Linked DNA regions of Homo sapiens: regions 1 and 3 are each linked to region 2. Evidence: promoter capture Hi-C in 16 types of primary human blood cells and fetal thymus (Javierre and others, 2016). All regions are on one chromosome and are shown on one strand. The core of a region is centred on a gene start or on the middle of the fragment in contact, and the rest is flanking DNA. Distances in the headings are between cores, read along the strand shown.

Region 1 (4,271 bases), core at 1,663-4,162, 380 kb before region 2:
TATTGTACGTAATCTAGAGATAAAGTACAGGGGAAGATGTGTATAGGTTATATGCAAATACTACATCTCATAAGGGACTTGGACATCCAAGGATTTGGGTATTCACAGGGGGGTCCTGCAACCAATCCCCCTCAGATACAAAGGGAGGACTGTAACTTTAGTCTTAGAAAAGGGCTGTTACCTTAGAACTTTGTCATGTGTAAAATACAGTATAAATTGTTTTAAATGATGTATGAGGTCTCATGCTTTAAAAGATCATTAGAAAAGAATTATTTCATTTCTAAGCAAGCAATTAAAAAAATAATGTCTTCCATTTGTTTACAGGATAAATGTGCATCCTCACTAGGAAAAAAAAGTTTGTGTGAAAAGCTGGATCCAACCATTATCAGTTTTGAAATAAATTCCTTTCTGAAATAAAATATTAGAAACATAAGCATTTAAACAAAAAATTTTGTTTTTCAACATCATTTTATCCTTTATATACCATTACACTTACAGAATCTGACACATAATTTCTCTGCTGTTAAGAAATAGCAGTATGGGCCGGGTGCGGTGGCTCAGGTCTGTAATCCCAGCACTTTGGGAGGCCAAGGCAGGTGGATCACGAGGTCAGGAGTTCAAGACCAGCCTGGCCAAGATGGTGAAACCCCGTCTCTACCAAAAATACAAAAATTAGCCAAGTGCAGTGGCAGAGGCCTATAATCCCAGCTACTTGGGAGCCTGAAGCAGGAGAATCACTTGAACCCGGGCAGCAGAGGTTGCAGTGAGCCAAGAAAACGCCACTGCATTCCAGCCTGGACGACAGACTCCGTCTCACAAAAAAAAAAAAAAAAAAAAAAAAACAAAAAAAAAAAAAAGGAAGAAGAAAGAAAGAAAGAAATAGCAGTATGCTGGGCCGGGCGCAGTGGCTCACTCCTATAATCCCAGCATTTTGGGAGGACGAGGCAGGCAGATCACCTGAGGTCAGGAGTTCAAGACCAGCCTGGCCAACATGGCGAAACCCCATCTCTACTAAAAAAATACAAAAATTAGCTGGGCATGGTGGCAGGCGCCTGTAATCCCAGCTACTCGGGAGGCTGAAGCAGGAGACTCCCTTGAACCCGGGAGGTGGAGGTTGCAGTGAGCCCAGATCATGCCACTACACTCCAGCCTGGGTAACAGAGCAAGACTCCGTCTCAAAAAAAAAAAAAAAAAGAAAAAGAAAAAGAAAAAGGCTGGGCACGGTGGCTCACGCCTGTAATCCCAGCACTTTGAAAGGCCAAGGCGGGTTGATCACGAGGTCAGGAGTTCGAGACTGGCCTGGCCAACATGGTGAAACCCCATCTCTACTAAAAAAATAAAAATTAGCTGGGCATGGTGGCGGGCATCTGTAATCCCAGCTACTCGGGAGGCTGAAGCAGGAGAATCATTTGAACCTGGAAGGCAGAGGTTGCAGTAAGCCGAGATCGTGCCACTGCACTCCAGCCTGGGTGACAGGGCGAGACTCCATCTCAAAAAAAAAAAAAAAAAAAAAAAAAAGAAAGAAAGAATGAAAGAAAAGAAATAGCAGTAAGCTATAAAATGCTAAGACTAAAAATTTTACTAATATGCAGTTCCTCCAATGCTAAAAAGCTTGAAGAAAAAGAGTACCACTAAACATCCTGGACCCAGGAAACTGGTTTCTGAGTCAAAAAAGATAATTAAACAGGTAGTAAAATGTATTGTGTAACAAAACTAAAAATTTTAAACATTTCTCAAAATTTTTCTTCACTCACTGCTAACAAACCAAATTTTTTTTGTGTGTAAACCTGAATTCTTTAAAGGTAATTTTAAAATTTTATCCGTGGTAATCCTGCGGTTTTCAAGAATGCCAAAATAGGCCAGGTGTGGTGGCTCACACCTATGATCCCAGCACTTTGGGAGGATCTCTTAAGAGCCCAGGAATTCGAGACCATCTGGGCTACACAGTGAGACCTTGTTTCTACAAAAAAATTTAAAAATTAGCCAGGCATGGGGTGGTGTGCACTTGGGGTCCCAGCTACTCAGAAAGCTGAGGTGGGAGGATCACTTGAGCCGAATAGGTCGAGGGTGCAGTGAACCGAGATCTGCCACTGTACTTCAGCCTGGGCAACAAAGCAAAACACTGCCTGCCACCATTGCTCCTGCCCTCCAAAAACACCTTAAATTATGATTTTAGGATTTTGCAAGTGCTTTTAAAGCTTTAAGTGAGTCTTAAATGTCCGGTATTCTTGGGGTTTTTTAAGACGGTGGGGAAAAATGTTAAGAGGAAAAGCTGACAGCTCACAAAATAAATGTTAAAACTTTGATATAATAAGTAATGGCTTTGTCTAAACATACGCTAAACAGATCTTTTGAATTCTGGTTTAAAATCACATTATTTTTGCTTTCTCTTTAGCCCATAATTTTGATGTCAATTACTAGTTGTTCCTAAAATATATAATCAACATTTTCACCAACTTTTATTTTATTTTTTGGCAGACAGGGTCTGACTCTGCCACCCAGGCTGGAGTGCATGGCATGATCTCTTGGCTTACTGCAGCCTCAACCTCCTGGACTCAAGCGATCCTCCCATCTCAGTCTCCCAAGAAGCTGGGACTACAGGCACACGCCACCATGCCTGGCTAATTTTCTTATTTTTTGGAGAGACAGGGTCTAGCCATGTTGGCCTGCCTTGGCCTCCCAAAGTGTTGGGTTTACAGGCATGAGCCACTGCACCCAGCCTCCCTGTGGATTTCTTAAATAAAACCTATAGAAACACTAACCACAGAGAAAATAAAAGGACAAATTCCACATTATAATCAATAATTTGTTCATCGAAAGATGCCATAAGGCTGGGTGTGGTGGCTCACACTTGTAATCCCAACAGGTTGGGAGGCTGAAGTGGGAGGATCGCTTGAGAGCAAGAGTTCAACACCAGCCTGGGCAACAAAGTGAGACCTCTATTATTCAACAACAACAACAAAGCCATAAACTAAATGAAAGAACTCATTGTGAAAGAAGACATTTATATCACACACAAATGACAAAGAACTAGGAAAAAAAAAAGAAACAGCAAAAGACAAACACTTCAGCACAAGAAGAAATCTAAATGACAAACATTAAAAGATGCTCGGACAGACACGGTGGCTCACGGCCAGGTGCGGTGGTTCACGCCTGTAATCCCAACACTTTGGGAGGCTGAGGTGGGTGGATCACCTGAGGTCAGGAGTTCACGACTGGCCTGACCAACATGGTGAAACCCGTCTCTACTATAAACACAAAAATTAGCTGGGCGTGGTGGCAGGCACCTGTAATACCAGGTACTTGAGAGGATGAGGCAGGAGAATCGCTGGAACCCAGGAGGCGGAGGTTGCAGTGAGCTGAGACCACACCACTGCACTCCAGCTTGGGCAACAAGAGTGAAATTCCGTCTCAAAAAAAAAAAAAATACGCTCAACATGTTTTAAGGCTTAAATGATTCATGGAGTAAGTCCGAATGTCTCTGTAGCTCATCAGACTGTTCATGATTGGATCTCTGCTTAACTTCTCCAATGCTCCCTCCTCCTCCTTTCATCCTACCCACAATTTGCAGACCTTCCTCTTCCTGAACCAGCTTCCCACTCTCACTATAATCTGTCTAAGCTTATTTGTCCTTCTGGTTTCGGTTTACAGAGCTGAGAGCCTAGCCTGACCCGCATCCTCTCCGTCCCCTTTCCACTTGGAGTCTACAATTGCCTCTTTGCTTTGTCCTGTTCATGGTTGTATCCAGGATCCATAATGCCTAATGCTGTGCTCGGCAGAGTGATCTAGACACTGCAGTTTCTTTAGAAACCTAGTATCAAATGCCCATCTTTCTTGAATACCCTGGAATCCTCTCCATAACGGGAGGTGAAATGTATACGTTTTATTTTTACAAGTCTCTTAAACTCAACCTCAAGAAACAAATAACATACGCTATTCAATATGAATGTAAAGTACATCCTTACAATAAATACACCCGTTTGGTTTGGATTCAACAATCAATTCATGCTCAAGTAAACAATACGTCATGCTTTTCTAACCAGGAGTTTGTTATTGCGGATGCTGGCTCTGTTCCCCACAAGCATATTCTACTAATGCACAACTATATATATTTAAACTGCGGGAAAGGGTCGCTTAAACAAGGGTAACACTATAATTACACTTAGAAAAATCTCAGAATTCCTTTAGGACACTTTAAACTGGATTTAAATGGATTTGAAATCCATTACTCAAAACCACTAACTAGCGGCCGGGCACGGTGGCTCACACCT
Region 2 (4,530 bases), core at 1,439-3,938:
CTCCCACAAAACATGGGAATTCAAGATGAGATAAGGGTGGGAACACAGCCAGACCATATCAAGCACCTAACACAATGCTAACCCAAAAACTTCCAGTGTTTTCTCAGTAATTTATTCATTCATTAAATTGTTTATGAAGCACCTATTATATGTGCAGGGACTATGGAAGGTAATAAATAGTGAATAAGCATAGACCCTCTGCTTATATGGAGTCTACACATAAAAATCGTAAGTTCTAAAGGTAACTTTTTAATTTTTTTGTAGAGATGGGTCTCGCTATGTTACACAGGCTAGTCTTCAACTCCTAGCATCAAGCAATCCTCCCACCTTGGCATCCCTAAGTGCTGGAACGAACCACTGCACTTGGTCTGTCCTTTCTTATAATTTTTTTTAAAGTCTTTTTTTTTTTTTTTTTTTTTTTTGAGATGGAGTCTCGCTCTGTTGCCCAGGCTGGAGTGCAGTGGCACAATCTCGGCTCACTGCAAGCTCTGCCTTCCGGGTTCACACCATTCTCCTGCCTCAGCCTCCCAAGTAGCTGGGACTACAGACACCTGCCACCGCACCCAGCTAATTTTTTGTATTTTTAGTAGAGACAGGGTTTCACAGTGTTAACCAGGATGGTCTGGATCTCCTGACCTCGTGATCCGCCCACCTCAGCCTCCCAAAGTGCTGGGATTTTTGTATTTTTAGTGTAGACAGGGTTTCACCATGTTAGCCAGGATGGTCTTGATCTCCTGACCTTGTGATCCGCCCACCTCAGCCTCCCAAAGTGCTGGGATTACAAGCGTGAGTCACTGCGCCCGCCCTGTTTTAAAGTCTTATGTAAAATCTATGTAGGTCAGGTGCAGTGGCTAATACCTGTAATCCCAGCACATCGGGAGGCCAAGGTGGGTGGATCACTTGAGGTCAGGAGTTTGAGACCAGCCTGGCCAACATGGTGAAACCCCATCTCTACTAAAAATACAAAAATTAGCTAGGCGTGGTGGCACGTGCCTGTAATCCCAGCTACTCCGGTGGCTGAGGCAGGAGAATCGCTTGAACCCAGGAGGTGGAGGTTGCAGTGAGCCAGGATTACACCACTGAACTCCAACCTGGGCGACACAGTAAGACTCCGTCTCAGAAAAAAAAAAAAAAAAAACATTTCAGACTTTTCATTGGCTACAGCATAAAATTTCAACAGCTCAACACCACACTAAAAGCCTTTGGTCATCTAACCCCACCCACCTGGGCCAGTCTCCTTCCTTTTCTACACCAGCAACGCCAATCTACCTCGTTTCAAGCCCTCTCCCTAGCAAACTTCTAGTCCACCAAGACTCAACGTGGACTTTGGTGTCTCATATAACGCCTCTTCCGTTGTATGAGACTCTTCCAAAGTCTTCCGTCTTTGGCGATCCTGCCTTGGCGCCTCTTGTAACCTCTTACAAGCTCACCTCCATAAGCCTCCAACTTGAATTGTAATTATTTCTGCCTTGCTGTCCAATAGTGATCTCTATGAAAGTAGAGGTATTTCTTTTTTCATCTAGTGTCCATAACCCTGCCTAACACATTTATATCTAACGAATGAAACATTTTTCATCAGGAGTATCGCATTTGCACTAGTCCTCTAGTCAGGACTAGAATCCACAACTCTGCTCCCCCTAGGATGCTCTTTTCATTAGCATAACTACATAGCTGCAAGAAAGCGCAAAGAAAACAGGGAGAGAAGAGGTTAACTAGGCCTATCCAGAACATTTGGCCCACATAGGGTGAGACGTTTGTAGCTTTCCAGGGAGAGATAATCCTGGATAGATGGGGTCGGGTGACGGAGAGCACTGAATGCTGAGCTGAAGCAGATAGCGTCCATGACTGGCCCAAGGTCACACGTTAATAAGCAGAGGGGCAGCGACTTGATCCCAAGCAGCCCAGCTCCAGAGTCCGTTGGTCCTGACCACTTCATCATACTGCTCTTCAACGGCGCTCCATTACCAGACCCTTAGCTGGACCGGCGGTATAAATGGGAGCGTCGTGGGAGCAGAATTACGTGTCATAAAAGGGTCTCCTAAACCCCCAGTCTATTTTAAATCTCACTCCTGGCTGCTGTTTGTTAATAAGAGATTCTGGCCGTGTTTGTAATGAGCGCTACATGTAGGGCCAAGGCGAGGAATGCGACTGCTGGAAAATGAACTAGAACAATGCATTAAAATGCCTGGCACGACGTAAACACTCCGTGATCACAAGTTCAGATCCGGGGCGGCTGGAGAGGCACGGGTTTCAGGGCTGAGGGGGGCGTCCCTCCGGAGCCAAGCAGAACCTGGGGACGGCGGAATCCGCACAAGCACCAACGTTCCGCCCCCGTGCCTCCGCACTGGAGAGGCTGCTCACCGCCCACTCTCTGAGGCGGGAAAGGAGCCGCGCCACAAGGCCCCGGGTCCCTCCCCAGCACGCGCCGTCCCGGCCCTCACCTGCCGGCCCCATGTACTTGATCACCCCCTGGGTCTTGAACACCTCCCGGGCGGCCAGCAGCGCGTCCTCGCCGTGCGCCGTATAGAAGTCGCCCCGGTCGAAAAGGCGCACTGTGGTGGTCGGCTTCTCCGGCATGCCCTGAAAGAAGCGCACGAAGCCGACCTCGGCCGCGCTCTCCAACTGCAGCGTCTCCTTCGGCTGCACCGCCATGTCGAAACCTCCTCACCTCCTGGTTGAAGAAAATGCGCGACCCCACACCCACTAAGCTGTTTCCCGCCTCCCCTCCCACGTCCCCCGAGCGGCGTCCGGCCACGGCGACCACACCCAATCAGCTTCCAGGGCTGCGTTTCGGTGGGTGGGAGTCTGCCGCGGCAACCAATCATAAGCAGACGCGGCCCAGCTTCCCGCGCACGCTGGTGACTTTAGCTACTGCGCATGCCTGCGCCTAGGTCGCGCGGAAACCCGCAGACGCGCATCCTTAGTAGAGCTCCTTTCTGTGTTTACTCAGCTGCAAGGCTTGAAGCCCCTGGGTGGGGTGTATGCAAGGGTAGGTTGCCACCAGGTGGGAGATTTCCGGCAGGCACTGAGCTCGTAATGTGCCCGGAAGCATGGGAGTAACATCAGAAGGAAACTTGAAAACAAAAAAAAAACTAGCCTTCCTCCTCCTCCCAGTATTTTGTTAAAACGTGTGCCCCTCTCCGACTGCCTCCCTTTTTCTTTCTAAGCAAACTGCCAACATCGGGATTACGGGTTTATTCTACACAGCCTCCTTACTGCTGCCTGTTAGCCACATTATCGTTTCATCCACTCGTTGATGATTCACTCATTCGAAAACATTTATATGGCCTGCTATGTCCCAGACTCTTCTTGGCTCTGAGGATCGCCAGTAAAAAGAAAAATCACTGCCTTTATTCTGCTTACATTCTAATATGAGAAAATTCAGATAATGAATATAGCAAGTAAATGAAATGGTACGTTAGAAGATATGCGTTTGTGGCAGGGCGCGGTAGCTCACGCCTGTAATCCCAGCAATTTGGGAGGCCGAGGTGGGCGGATCACTTGAGCCCAGGAGATTGACACCATCCTGGGCAACATGGTAAAACCCACGTCTGTGATCCCAGATATTAGCAGGGCTGAGGCGAAAGGATCACCTGAGCCCGGGAGGTCGAGGCTGCGGTGAGCCGTAAATTGTGCCACTGCACTCCAGCGTGGGCGACAGATTGAAAACCCTGTCTCAAAAAATACAAAATAAAATAAATAAAAAGACAAACGTTTGACGCCAGGCGTGGTGTCACACGCCATAATCCCAGTACTTTGGGAGCACGAGCCAGGAGGATCGTTTGAGCCCAGGAGGTCTTCTGCCGTCAGCTATGTTCACGCCACTGCACCGCAGCTGGGGCGACAGAGCGAGAGACCCCGTCTTGAGGGGGGGTAGGGGAAGACCAGTTAAGGAAGAGGAAGGTTGAAATTTTAAAATGTTAGCAAACAGCCAGGCGCAGTGGCTCACGCCTGTAATCCCAGCGTATTGGGAGGCCAACGCGGGTGGATCACCTGAGGTCCGGAGTTTGAGACCAGCCTGGCCAACATGGCGAAACCCCGTCTCTACTAAAAATACAAAAATTACCGGGCATAGTGGTGGGCGCCTGTAATCACAGCTACTCGAGAGGCTGAGGCAGGAGAATCTCTTGAACCTGGGAGGTGGAGGGGGCAGTGAGCGAAGATCGCGCCACTACACTCCAGCCTCGGTGACAGAGCGAGACTCTGTCTCAAAAAATAAATAAAATGTTATCAAACACCTGAAGGAGCTCAGGATCCATCCTGCAAAATTAACTCTTAGAAAAGGTTTTTGCTGGCCGGGCGCGGTGGCTCACGCCTGTAATCCCAGCACTTTGGGAGGCCGAGGCGGGCAGATCACCTGAGGTCAGGAGTTCGAGACCAGCCTGACTAACATGGTGAACCTCCGTCTCTACTAAAAACACACACAAAATTAGCCGGGTGTAGTGGTGGGCACCTGTAATCCCAGCTACTTGGGAGGCTGAGGCAGGAGAATCCCTTGAACCTGGGAGGTGGAGGTTGCAGTGAGCCGAG
Region 3 (4,391 bases), core at 539-3,038, 450 kb after region 2:
TAAAAATACAAAAATTATCCGGGCGTGGTGGTGGGCGCCTGTAATCCTAGCTACTTGGGAGGCTGAGGCAGAAGAATCGCTTGAACCCGGGAGGCGGAGGTTGCAGTGAGCCAAGATCGTGCCACTGTACTCCAGCCTGGGTGACAGAGCGAGACTCCGTTGTCTCAAAAAAAAAAAAAAAAAAAAGGCTCTTAGTTCTGAAAGGATATCTACCTTGCCCTTTCAATGCTAAACTGTTTTTCTGTTATAGCACAGTAAGAGCAGAAGATGGTATCATTTTGCTGCTATTTTTTGCTTCTTAATGTCCTTACTTGGCAACATTAAGAGTCCACTGCACTCTGTGGGGCCCATGCATTTGAATGTGAAATATTCTTGGTCTATCAGTACAACAGTCAGGGAACGGAACCCCTTGCCCAGTGGGAGGGTGCCACGGGGGAGGTCGCTTTACCAGAGGAACAATCCCCTCTACTGTGTGGATCAGCGCATCACCTACTCCTTTTGTGCCTCACTGTCCCTGTCAATAAAAGGGGAAAAAGGACTTCATGGAGATATCCAGGTATGAGGAAAGAACGGATGAGGAAATACTTCACAGACTAACGTGGGAACTATAAAAGTGGGGGTGTGATCACCATCTTTCACATGAATCCAACTTTCCCAGTCATTATTTTATTTCCACCCCAGTACTCTGGGAGGCAGTACCAAGAAATGAGAGACAGCATTAGAGCATGGGCTGTAGACACTAAAGGCCTGGGTTGTGATCACCTTTCTTGGGTCTCAAGAGATGGAGCTTGGCAGGGCACAGTGGCTCACACCTGTAATCCCAGCACTTTGGGAGACCAAGGCAAGAGGATCGCTTGAAACCCAGAATCTGAGACCAGCCTGAGAAACACAGTAAGAACTGTGTCTCTACAAAAAATTGAAAAAAAAAAAAAAGAAAGAAAGAAAGAAAAAGAAATGGGGCTAATAGTAAATACCGTTGCAGAAGGTTCCTTGGAGGCCTGCATGCGATGGTGCAAAGCCTCAACCTAGTAGCAGAACAGAGTTTAGGACAAGTGGCTTGTTTTCACTGATCTCCACACAACTGAGCTGGACGGGGTCTTAGAGAGATAACCAAGAGGAAAGGGTTTCAAGCTTTCCCAAGGAGGGGCCTCAGGACCCACCTCTCCCAGCTCTCCTTCTCATCCAGCAGAGCTACTTGGATGCACAGGAATCCACCTGAGACTGCATCAGCTGCCAAGAAAGGTCACGCCAACTGTGACCTGATCTTTGCGGGTGAGATAGAAAATACTACAAATGATGGCCGGGCATGGTGGCTCACGCCTGTAATCCTAGCACTTTGGGAGGCACAGGTGACAGGACTGCTTGATCCCAGGAGTTTAAGACCAGCCTGAGCAATATGACAAGACTTTGTCTCTACAAAAAAATTTAAAAATTAGCTGGGTGTGGTGGTGCATGCCTATAGTCCCAGCTACTCAGGAGGCTGAAGCAGGATGATCACTTGAGCCCAGGAGGTCCAGTCTGCAGTGAGCCATGTTCACGCCACTGCACTCCAGCCTGGGTGACAGAGTGAGACCCTGTCTCAAAAAAGAATCCCACAAACGACATTTAATATATTATTTTACAGATCATCATTAAGTTTTTGGCTCTGGCCTGGATAACAGTAAATTTCTGCACATTATTGGTGCCTATATATGTCTTTGTTTAACAAAATATGGTACAATTTGTATTTAATAAAACCGTTGTCACAATACATGTGGTTACTATTCAGCCAATACAAAGAATGAGACAATACTGGCATGGAGAAAGCTCTAAATAAAACTTCTTGGTGAAAAATATATATCTTACAACTCTATGAAAAGAAATATCTGTGTGTATATATGTTTGTAAATGCACAAAGAAAGGCATAGGAGATGCACATCAAATACTGACCAGTGCTCAACTCTGAGGATGGGTGTGGGCATGAGGGTGAGGTTGGAAAACAAGAACTTTTTTTGTGTGTGTGAGACAGGATCTTGCTCTGTCACCCAGGCTGGAGTGCAGTGGCATGAACACAACTCACTGCAGCCCCAACCTCCTAGGCTCAAGTGACCCTCCAGCCGCAGCTTCTTGGGTAGCTGGGACCACAGGTGCAAGCCACCACGCCTAGCTAATTAAAAAAATTTTCTGTAGAGATGGGGTCTCACCATGTTGCCCAGTCTGATCTCAAACTTCTGGCTCAAGCAATCCTCCCACCTTAGCCTCCCAAAGTGCTAAGACTACAGGCGTGAGCCATAGGCCAGCTGGGACTTTTATTTATCACTCAAATTACTTATTTGTTGACTGGAATTTTTACAATAAGGCTGAATCATGTTTATTTTAAAAACAATTTTTAAATATTTAATTTAACATTTAATTATTAATTTAATATTTTTAAAACGAAAAGCGGTCTTGGTGGGAAAAGCTTGAACCCCACCAATCTGGTCCAACCCTTTTGACCAGCAGATGAGAAACTGGAAGGTCTGTGGGGTCAAGCATGCTCAGGGTCAGGCAGCTATTTTAACCCAATACAAACCTCCCAGTGCTACAATACCTGTCAAGGAGCCTAAAAGCAGTAACCTTAAACTTCTAGTACACACTCCCCTCTCCCCTGGCCTTTCCCTCCCTTACAAAATAAGCCCTGCACATCCTGGCCTGGTGTTCCAGTCTGCCCTTACTAGCCCCAAAGTACCTTTACAACCTTGTCTAGATCCAGCCCCAGAAGGATCCAATTCTAGTACTGCCATTACTCAGAGTCTGCTCTCTGCTTATCCCCAAAGAGCATCCCCCTCAGACTTGCTTCCTCGTGGATAGCACTCCTATCACGGTCTACCTTGGAGGAAGGCTATTTACTTGCTGATAGGACTTATCTTCCCAAGAGACCTGCAACCTCCTTGAGGGCAGGGTCCATGCTGGATTCGTCTTGATTGCCTTCAGAGTGCACAACACAATGCCTTGCACACAGTACGTTGGAATAAAAGGTTTAAGGAAGTGAATATATTACTTTGGAATAGCTCTTTAAAAATCAGCTGGGCGCAGTGCCTCACTCCTGTAATCCCAACGCTTCGGGAGGCTGAAGTAGGAGGATCGCTTGAGCCCAGGAGTTGGAGACCAGCCTGAGTAACACAGCGAGACCCTGAAGAAAATAAAGACAGACAGAAAGACAGAAAGAAAGAGAGAGACAGAGGGGAAGGAAGCAAGGAAGGAAGGGAGGGAGGGAGGGATCACTTCCTCTTTGAGTTTTTTTTTACCCCCTCCCCCTCCTCTTTTGAGTTTCTAATGACATACCCATGCCACTATTATAGTTCAGGATACATTGTAATCTAACACAGCCACAGCCTCAAACTTGGATGCACATATGAATCACCCAGGAGAGCTTGTTAAAACACAGATTCTAATTCTTAATTGCATTTCTTTTTTTTTTTCTCTTAATTGCATTTCTAACCAGCTCCCCAATGATGCCTACACTGCTGGTGGGTGGACCACATTTTGAGCAGCAAAGTCCAGAGAAAGTTGTGACCATACTCCTTCTGGGAGGGAGAGGTGGGTCCTCTACCTCCCTCAGTGTCTTGTACTCAGTAGGTGCTTGATAAATACACGTGGACTTAAATGGGCTTGCCCTGTTATGGAGCTCTTCTGTCCCTAGCCAACTCTGCATGTTTGCCTGTTTCTAACTAGGTCACAGGTTCACTGAGGTTTTATTTTCCTGAGAGCCCCCTGACCCAAGGAGCCCAAAGGGCCAGGCACATATTAAGTCAACCAAGCACTGTCCAAAAAAATATGATGTAAGCCACAAATGTGAACCACATGTGTAATTTAAAAATTTCTACTAAGATTTTTTTTAGTCACACTGAAAAAGGTAAAAGGTGAAATTAATTTTAATAACATGTTTTATTTAACCCAATATATCCAAAATATACCATCTGAACATGTAATCAACATAAAAAGTTACTGCTCTTTTCTATTCTTTGTTTTGTACTAAGTCTTTGAAACCTTGTGTATGCTTTATACTTACAGCACATCTCAATGTGGACTAGCCATACTCCAAGTGCTCAAGGGGCCATGTGCAGCCAGTGGCTACTGTAAGTGCAAGGGCAGCTTGTAAGAGAGACTTGTTGCTCAGGTGACCAAATGACTCAGGGAGGACTGGACAGATGCGAGGCAAGACAGACGAGGAGAGGAGGTCTCAGGCTTGAAGGCTGACGACTTACCGAGAGCCTCCCATGGTTAAGGATACTGCTTAGATAATTTTTGGCTTCGCTCATCTTCGGCTCATTCTTCTCCAGCAAAGGCATGGAGTCTTTTATTTTGGCATGGTTCTCCTTCAAACACTGCTCCAGGAGGGCCTCAGCCAGCAGCAATTTCCCAAAGTCATC

The links. Contacts are between HindIII fragments. The CHiCAGO score rates a contact against its expected background, and 5 or more counts as called.
Region 1: a contact is called between a fragment that was not itself captured here and the fragment with the promoter of MSH2 in region 2, in 2 of 17 cell types (fetal thymus and naive B cells). The highest score is 6.4, in fetal thymus.
Region 3: a fragment that was not itself captured here is called in contact with the fragment with the promoter of MSH2 in region 2 in 1 of 17 cell types (erythroblasts); the score reaches 5.5 in erythroblasts.

Annotation. Positions count from the first base shown.
Region 1 is chr2:47,785,494-47,789,764 of GRCh38, reverse strand. All of the region lies in intron 1 of MSH6 (mutS homolog 6), which reads right to left. Among named protein-coding and RNA genes, the nearest start is that of MSH6, 4.5 kb to the right of the region's middle. The HindIII fragment of the contact is 1,423 bases long and covers 2,201-3,623 here.
Region 2 is chr2:47,401,314-47,405,843 of GRCh38, reverse strand. It overlaps MSH2 (mutS homolog 2), which reads right to left and starts at 2,688. Exons shown (of 16, transcript NM_000251.3): 1 at 2,442-2,688. The coding sequence starts at 2,652. RefSeq lists enhancers at 2,102-2,161, 1,528-2,236, 2,237-2,947, 2,952-3,001. The HindIII fragment of the contact is 10,707 bases long and covers 1-4,530 here.
Region 3 is chr2:46,950,362-46,954,752 of GRCh38, reverse strand. It overlaps TTC7A (tetratricopeptide repeat domain 7A), which reads right to left. Exons shown (of 20, transcript NM_020458.4): 2 at 4,227-4,390. Among named protein-coding and RNA genes, the nearest start is that of TTC7A, 11 kb to the right of the region's middle. The HindIII fragment of the contact is 1,309 bases long and covers 1,134-2,442 here.